Regions from separate parts of the Homo sapiens genome. Here all the other regions are linked to region 3. The links are contacts of gene promoters, found by promoter capture Hi-C in blood cells and fetal thymus (Javierre and others, 2016). All regions are on one chromosome and are shown on one strand. Each heading gives the region's core, a stretch centred on a gene start or on the middle of the fragment in contact. The rest is flanking DNA. Distances are from core to core; before and after follow the strand shown. Region 1 overlaps UTRN (utrophin). Region 2 overlaps ADGB (androglobin). Region 3 holds the start of EPM2A (EPM2A glucan phosphatase, laforin).

Region 1 (2,751 bases), core at 221-2,720, 1.1 Mb before region 3:
CAGATTAGGAAGCGGCACAATTACTATGAAATAAATAAACTAGTAACAGATAAATTTTATTTGTGTGGTTATATTTTGAAAACTGATCTAAGTTATTGAGCTATATTAATGTAATGAAATGAAAATTTAGTTGTAGACTTAAATATTAACAGTTGCCATCTCAAATATTGATAGAGGTAGCTATACCAACCAAAAATACTTAATTGTATTTTAATTATCAATAGTCCATGTGTCATACCTAAAAGTTTAAATGGGTTTGACATTTATTTGCTTTAAGACACTGTAAATTCCCTTCCCATTAAATTGTAAATGCTGTCTTGACTTTCTCCTTATTCCTCCCACATTCTCTAAATTTAGTTTCTTAGAAAAAAATGCTTTAAGTTTGTGTATCTCCATAAAAATACAGAAACAGTCTATTGTAAATACATGTAGAGACCAAAATGAATGAGAATAAAATGTGGCATAATCTGAGGGAAATTTGACTATTTAAAATTCATATTGGCATTTTGAAATTCAGTGTCTGAATATTTTTATCTTCTTTTAAATTCCTCTTGAGGATCATTCTTTTTATGTATTATTTGTTTAGTCTTTTGTTAGACTTTTCCCTCTGTGGCAGCTCGTCTTTTCTGCTTATTTTCATACTTCTCTTGTTTGTCAGAAGATAGTGTGTGTGTTACACGAGTAGATACTTGTGTAGAATATTCTCATTTTGTGGGTTTTCTTGTATGTTTCAAAGAGAAGGGAGGAATGAAAAAAGGCATGTCACAGCTCTCAGAGTTAAAATATACTCCCCTCCCACAATCTATTTACACATTCACGTGTATTTTTTGCCTTTAAAAATATTTCTTCTCGGTTATACATCCAATAAAATTTGAGCAGGAAGCAAAAACGTAAGTGCTGCTTACTTGGAGATATAATTAGCAGCATTGAAATTGCCCTGATGACCTAAAATCACCCTACACTGGATGCTAATTTTCTCAGATATGGTTTTGTTTGCTTAGTTTCTTTAAAATTTTCATGCCTATAAAATAATTTTTCTTTTAGTAGAGCACAGTAGAAAAAAAGCTGATGTAAATGATTTGAAAAATAATATTGAATTTAATTTGTTTTTATTGTTACGTGATTACTTTGGGGTGTTTTATATCATGAAGTCTTTAGATTAGAACTGGGTTATTTGTGTTAATGTTAAATCAGAAGAGATTTTTGTAAGTCCTCCTTATTTTTTTCTTAGTGCCAATTTCTGTAAAATATTTAGCAATTGAGGGCATGGTAAAAAGCAGTTTCCTGTAAAGTAGATTGGGATATGAACATTATAGAAAAATGAGAAAAATTTAAAAATATTTAGTGCTGTAAATTGACTCCTTCGTGACTCAAGCATTTTAGAAAATGTTGATTTAAGTGATATAACTTCTATTTGCTTGAATGTATATGTAAATCATTTTAGTTTAAGTGGTTTTAGTCACCCCCCAAACTATTCTGATCATATTTCTTCAGCAAAAATCTTTTAAACATCTAGCTGTATATAGATGTGTATTCATTTAAAAATTATACATATATGCCATGGTGAAATCATGTATTAAATATTAGTAGTGTATAATTTTGTTCTTACTTTCTACTGTTGCCTTTTTGTACCACAGTTGATTCTTTTTCTCTATGTGGTATACACAACACGATTTTGGTGACTAGTCATTTACATACAGAGTGAAACTATGGCTATTCTTAGCCTGGCCTTCTAGGGGGCTTGAGCTTTCAGTGTGGTGCTGATCTCAAAGTCTTCCCCGGAATACTGTGTCTTCTGTGGTATTAAAGCAACTACTTCTGAATATTCTGTGAAAAATAGAAGAGACCAGAAGATTCCACCTGGGAAGTCACGATTGACCAGTGATGTCTACAAAAGGCTTGCTTTGTGGCTGTGTGTGTGTGTTTTCATGTGTGGACGTGGACAACACAGAACTATGTAGTTGCTTGTAGTGCTAATGAGTAAATAGATAATGAACATGAAGGCACATTAATCTCTCAGCAGGTTTTTATGTTCACTGATGAAGTAAGGTCACATATTATTTTTCATCTACATGTACAGCTCCCTGTATTTAGAGGTAGTTAAGGTTGAGTATGTGGTTTTTTAGAAGACACTGAATGGAGTGGTGTATTTTCGACCGGTTGAATTTTGTATTTTTTACTCTCAAACATTTCCCCACCTTTTTTTCACAGGAGAACCCTGCTCTCCTTGGACAATTAAATCCTGAAGTGATCCAGGGCAATGGAGATTTACTTTAACATGATCTGATTGTTGAGATGTGTGTATTTTAAGGTCAACTCTTGGATTCCCTCAGTTTCTCTCAATAACCAACTCATACATAGATTGTTTGAACCATGGAGCTCAGAGTCATGACCCTCTAGTCTGCAAGTTAGAATTCCCACTTGATCATATGAGTTGTCTCTTCTTGGCTTCATGAGAAAGTCTTGGTTAGATTAGTACAGAAACTGTGTGAAGGTTGAGGTTTAATGGAGAAAAATGGCGTATGTAGATGGGTTTGCCTCCATCTAACCCTCTCTATGGATGCTGTAGGTGTGTTTCCTGGGAGCTGTATGGATACCCACACAGACTACTTTCTCTACTCTGCGTTTGTTTCTGCACTTCCTAGTCAGGTCAAGATTACAGACAAAAGTGAGACGGGATCAAGGAGAAAACACCTGCACCCCTGCCTGCCACTATCAGACATGATTCCTGTGGCTTCCAAGAGCACAAGT
Region 2 (2,700 bases), core at 100-2,599, 1.0 Mb after region 3:
TGAATAAAACAGTAAAGAATAATAAAATTGAAACGATAATTCAAAGTCCTCTAAGTCTTCCCTTTCCAAAAAACCATAGGCCCCCTTTTGGCTTTATAGGATAGGTCCAATAGACTTTTAAAAAGTAATTTCTTACGGAAAACAAACAATATAACTTTTCAATCCTTTTTAAGAAATTAATGTAATCCTGATTTCAAAACCAGATAAAGGTAACACAAAAAGGAATAAAATGTATTTATAAACATAGGTGATAAATTGCAAATAACATAATAGATATCCAATTCTAGCAGTGTATTAAGCAATCAGACAGAATTCTTCTCAGAAATTCAGAAATCTTTTACCATTGGAAAATCTATCAGTATTAGTCACTACAGTAATACACTAGATGAGAACAATCATATAATCCTGAAACATTTGACAAAGTTTAACACCTATTTATGGATTTCTAAAATGTGCTCTTAGCAAACTAGGCATAGGAGAGAACTTCTTCATCATAAATGTTACATGCCAAAAATTTTACACTTAATGGCCAAATCTCATATACAAAACCATTATACTAATGTGGGAAGTGTAAGTGTGTTCCTATTAAAATTGGAATAAGAAAAGAATGCTTGCTATAATTGTTAGTATTTAATGATACTGAACTATTATGATAATGGAAAGCCACAATGATACAAAGAACAAAATAATTAAAAGATTATTCTAAATAATCATTGAATTACTCACAGATAATATAATCATATGCCCAAGAAAAAACAACAGAATAAACAAACTTTAGAACTAAGAGATTTTGGCAAGATTGCCAAAGACATTAATAGTAATAACTAATATATTGACTTACTTATTACTTACTATGCACCTGATACTATGTGCTTCACACATAGATCTTGAATTCTCCCCATCAACTTTTTTCTTTTTCTTTTTTGAGACAGAGTCTCACTCCATTGTCCAGGCAATGGCGTGATCTCAGCTCACTGCAATCTCCACCTACGGGGTTCAAGTGATTCTCTCGTCTCAGCCTCTGGAGTAGCTGGGATTATAGGCACATGCCCCCACACCCGGCTAATATTTTTTGTATTTTTAGTAGACAAAGGGGTTCTCTACCATGTTGGCCAGGCTGGTCTCAAACCCCTGACCTCAGGTGACCCACCCACCTCAGCCTCTTGAAGTAAGTATTCTTATTATCTGTATTTCACAGTCAAGGAACCTGGAGGACAGGAAGCTTAAGTGACTTCCTCAAGGCCAAACAGCTGGTTTGTGCTAAAGCAGGACTTCAACCCAGACAGCTCTAGCTCATGAGGTCATGCCCTTAATCACAATGCTGTTCTGCTACTACAACTTAAACAAAAATCAGTAGTGTTCCTCTACACCGGCACTATGCATTAGACATCAGAATATGATGCCTTTAATAATAGCAGCAACAAAATCAGAAAACACCCAGGAATTAACCAAAAATATATCAGTTTTCCACATAGAAAAGCTTAACACTTGAATAAAGGCTACAGAAAGTAACCCAATCCACTGATGGACACAGATGACTTGAATAAATAGAGAAGCATTTCATGCTTTTCAGCAAGATGGCATAACAGTATAAAGATATGTTATCCTCAATCTGCCTTTAAATTCAATGCAATCCCAATCAAAATTCCCACTGTATTTTTCTGAAATTTTCTAAAGATACTTTAAAATTCATAGGAATGAATAGCAATTCACAAATAGCTAACGGAACTTGGGGAAAAAAGAGCAAAGTGTGTCTTAGTATTTCCAAAGACAAAAAGATATAGCAGTAAAAATAGTATTAATTAATGCATACATAGGTAAATGGAACAATAAGAGAAAGTAAGATAGAAACAGATCCATATTTTTATGAAAATTTCATATAGAATAGAGGCAACACCATAAACCAATGAAGAAAAGATGGACTATTGAGTAGGTTGTACTAGGAAAATTACATCTCCATGGAGAGAAATAAAACTAGATCACTAGCTAACATCATACATAAAGGTGAATTCCAGATATAGTGAACATTTAATTGTAAAATTTTAATCCCTAAATATAATAATAGATAATGTAGGAGACTATTTTTTTCTGTGTCATGATCACAAAGAAGAGAAAACCCTAAAGGCCAACAGCTTTGAAAAAATACTCAAACTTTATAGTAATCTTAAAAATGCAAAATACAATAGCAGTGAGATTTCACTTTATACCCACTGCACTCACAAAAATTATAAAGTTGGGTAGTGGCAGGTGTTGGTGGGGATGTGGGGCTATTAAACTTTTATAAAGTGTAGCGTTACAGAGTTTTGGAGAACATCCAGCATGATTTAACTAAATTATGACTGTCTGATCTGGAAAATTCTGCATTTATCATGTACCTAGCATAATAAATGACATTAGGCACATACCATGTATGTTCTTATCATTTTTAAACACTGCATTTTATTTCACAGAATTACAAGTATATTATACAGTGTTCGGTGTTGTATAACAGTTGGCCTCTCACTGAAAGCCAGCTGACATTTGTTCAAGCACTGAAAGACTTAAAGAAAAGTAATACCAAAGGTATGTCACCCTAAATGTTTAAACATGCACTTTACATTTGAATAAGTTGATATTTAAATATTTAATAATAAATTGATTTAGTCATGAAAATATCATTGTATGATGTTTTATTACACATTATAATTTGTACTCTATATC
Region 3 (2,915 bases), core at 232-2,731:
TCTTTAATGAAGTGTTAAAAAAAATGACTGCATTTTGACCTAATAATTTCACTTCTTTGAATCCACTCTGCAGAAACACTCCCGAATGTTCAAAGATATCTGTAAAAGGAATTTCAATTAAGCCACTACTGTTTACGACAGAGGAAAACTGAAAAGAACCTAAATGCACATTGGTAGATGCAGAATAATTTGTTGCCATTTAAAATATACATCTACATGTAAAATACATATCTACGTGTAGTGACAGTGAAAGATGTCCCTAACATATTGTTAGGCAAGAAAAGCAAAAATTCAGAATTACTATACAATTTTTGTAAAAAAAAAAAGTATATGCATATATCACATACATAAATGTGTACAAGCAGTGTGCTTAAGATGTGTGGAGGAAACACTGTAAGTTTTCACTATGTACATTTCTTTATTATTATTTTACAACCAGCATGTATTGTTTTAGTATTTTAAGAAATCAGGTCATGTCTCAATTGTCATATATCTGGGATTAAAAAAGAAAAAAAAATCCAAAAAGGGAAATATTCAACGTTTTTCCATTAGTTCATTCTCAATATCTATGAAAAAAATCTAAGTAGCACATTGCTGTCTAGGATTAGCGAAAACGCTAGTTTCGTTGGTTGGATCGTTTTGGGTTTTTTTTAGTGAATTAGAGCAGGAAAATGAGGACACAAAACCCAACCAAGGCGGAGTTGGGCTGTTGAAGCCATCAGCGGCGCGCGGCCGGGCAGCCAAGGGACCCGCGAAGGGGGGGACTCGGAGGTCGAGGGGCACTCGGAGGGCGAAGGGAGCCCCGGGCGGGAGACGAAGGGCACTGGCCCGTGACGCAGGCGCGGTTGGAAAGAAGCTGAGGACTGGATGTGCGGAAACCAGGTCAGAGGGGCAGGCAACAGAGTGGGCGGGAAGGCGGCCGGGAGCGCTATACGGGTCTAGGGAATCAGTAGGAAGCCGGAGGCGCGGCTGGCGGCGACAGCGTGGCCGGCAGAGCAGGGTCAGCCCAGGTCGCCCGGGGAGTGCGCAGGGACGCGGGCAAAAAGCCCGGGACGCGCGCCGCCGGGGCCTGCGGGGCCTGCCCGAGGCCGAGGCCCCGGTTGGGGGTGCGGGCCGGAGCTCCCGCTCTGCGCCGGGGGCAGGCGTCTGCTGGCAATACCTTCCCAGGAGAGCTCTCCTCCCGGCTCCCGCTTCAGGAACTTGTACCAGAACGTGTCCACGCGGCCCGGCTCCGCCCCGTCCTGCGCCGCCTCCTCGGCCGCCAGCTCCACCTCCCCGAGCCACAGGCCCGGCTCCTGCAGGGCCAGGGCCCCGTCGCCCGCCGCGGTGCCGGCCGGCCTCAGGCGGACGGCACCGCGCGGCTCCCAACGCCCCAGCTCGGGCCGCGACCCCACCACCAGCAGCTCCGGCCGGGCGCCGGCCACGGCGGGTGGCACCACCACCCCAAAGCGGAAGCGCATGGCGGGCGGCGGCGGCGCGAATACCCGGGCCCGGAGTCCCCGCGGCCGGCAGGCGCGGCCCGAGCACTAGGCGGCCGCAGCGATTGGGCGGTGGTGTGGGAGCCCCGGGCACCGGGGAGAACACGTGCTGTTCTGCGCCTTCTTTGGGATGCATCACGCGGCTCCCGAGCCCAGACTTCGTCCAGGCCGGCGGGAAGGGGTCAGCGGAGCCGCTAGCTGCCTCTTTGTGCCCCGCAACCCCGCGGGCGGTTGATTTCCACCTGTGGGCGCTGGGGACACGCGACCGGAAGAAATGGAAGAGAAAACGGGGTTCGGGGAGGGAGGAAAACTTCTAAGCCAGGCGATCGTCCAGTTCTCTCTCCAAGAGACTGGAAATTAACTTTATGAGGATCATAAGGAAGGGAATGACCTCTAGACAGCCGCCTTCTAATTGTGAAACGGGGGAAGATCTTGGACCTGGTCTCTGGAGCGCTCCCTATCTTAACCAAGTCACTTACTCTAGCAGGTCTCAGGTTCTTTGTCTGTAAAATGAGGGTGTAAAATAATGATCTTTCTAGACCCTACGAGCTCTGAAGGATCTCTGATTGGTGGAGATCACCCAAGACCCGGAGCTGATGCAAAACATTACCTACCATTCCCTTGTCTGAAAAGCCACATCAACTTTCTTTTTTCAAAAACTATATTTTTAGTATGTGTAAAGTAAGTTTGGAGTAAATACTTTCAAGTCCTTTTCAAGGTCAAAACAAAAACTAATTCTGTGACTACAAATGTATGCTTTTTTTTTTTTTTTTGAGACAGAGTCTCGCTCTGTCCAAATGTATGCATTTTTAATGGAGTAAATTAAAAAAAAAAACCTTTGTTTAAAATTTACTTTCAGCAAAAGTCAGCATTATTTTTTCAACTTAAAACCTTTTTGGGTTTTAAGTTGAAACAGGTTTTTTAGCTGTCTGGCCCAAATCCAAAATACGTATATCTTGGTGGGGAACTTCAATTTGTCTCTGCCATAAGACAAACGAATGTCCTGATACTTTTTGATTCTTTAACAAAATTATCCTTGTATTCTTAGGTTTATATATTCACTAACATTTAACATAACACAAATCTGTTACGTGAATTAAAGACACACAAAGGCATTTTTACCAGTGTTTGGAAGTTTGTGAATAGTAAAGGGGAACAGGCCAAAATTTCATGCGTTGAGGATATAAGTAAAACAGAAAGTGCAAAAATGTAAACTACACAAACTCAATCTCTTGTGGAACAATTAGAAAACTAATAATACATTTTACTCTTGAATGTTGATATTCCACTCGAAGTTTGGTTGGTTGCTAAGCTTAAGGATAAACACTATGAAAAATGTGAAGACAGAAGGGCTGGCCAAACACAGCTGATTCGGCAGCAAATCACACATTAAATCACAGTGGCATGTGAGTCGGTTTATTCAAATTGCTGTTAAAA

The links. Contacts are between HindIII fragments. The CHiCAGO score rates a contact against its expected background, and 5 or more counts as called.
Region 1: a contact is called between a fragment that was not itself captured here and the fragment with the promoter of EPM2A in region 3, in 1 of 17 cell types (fetal thymus). The highest score is 9.9, in fetal thymus.
Region 2: a fragment that was not itself captured here is called in contact with the fragment with the promoter of EPM2A in region 3 in 1 of 17 cell types (fetal thymus); the score reaches 5.6 in fetal thymus.

The regions. Positions count from the first base shown.
Region 1 is chr6:144,585,470-144,588,220 of GRCh38, forward strand. All of the region lies in intron 51 of UTRN (utrophin), which reads left to right. Among named protein-coding and RNA genes, the nearest start is that of SNORA98, 180 kb to the left of the region's middle. The HindIII fragment of the contact is 3,913 bases long and covers 1-2,751 here.
Region 2 is chr6:146,766,570-146,769,269 of GRCh38, forward strand. ADGB (androglobin) reads left to right here. Exons shown (of 36, transcript NM_024694.4): 29 at 2,451-2,562. The region is part of intron 1 of LOC105378040 (a long non-coding RNA gene); the gene reads right to left. Among named protein-coding and RNA genes, the nearest start is that of ADGB, 170 kb to the left of the region's middle. The HindIII fragment of the contact is 258 bases long and covers 1,221-1,478 here.
Region 3 is chr6:145,734,039-145,736,953 of GRCh38, forward strand. It overlaps EPM2A (EPM2A glucan phosphatase, laforin), which reads right to left and starts at 1,482. Exons shown (of 4, transcript NM_005670.4): 1 at 1,160-1,482. The coding sequence starts at 1,460. EPM2A-DT (EPM2A divergent transcript) reads left to right here and starts at 831. Exons shown (of 3, transcript NR_038246.1): 1 at 831-882. RefSeq lists a silencer at 957-1,546 and enhancers at 1,707-1,766, 1,777-1,826, 1,847-1,896. The HindIII fragment of the contact is 8,125 bases long and covers 1-2,788 here.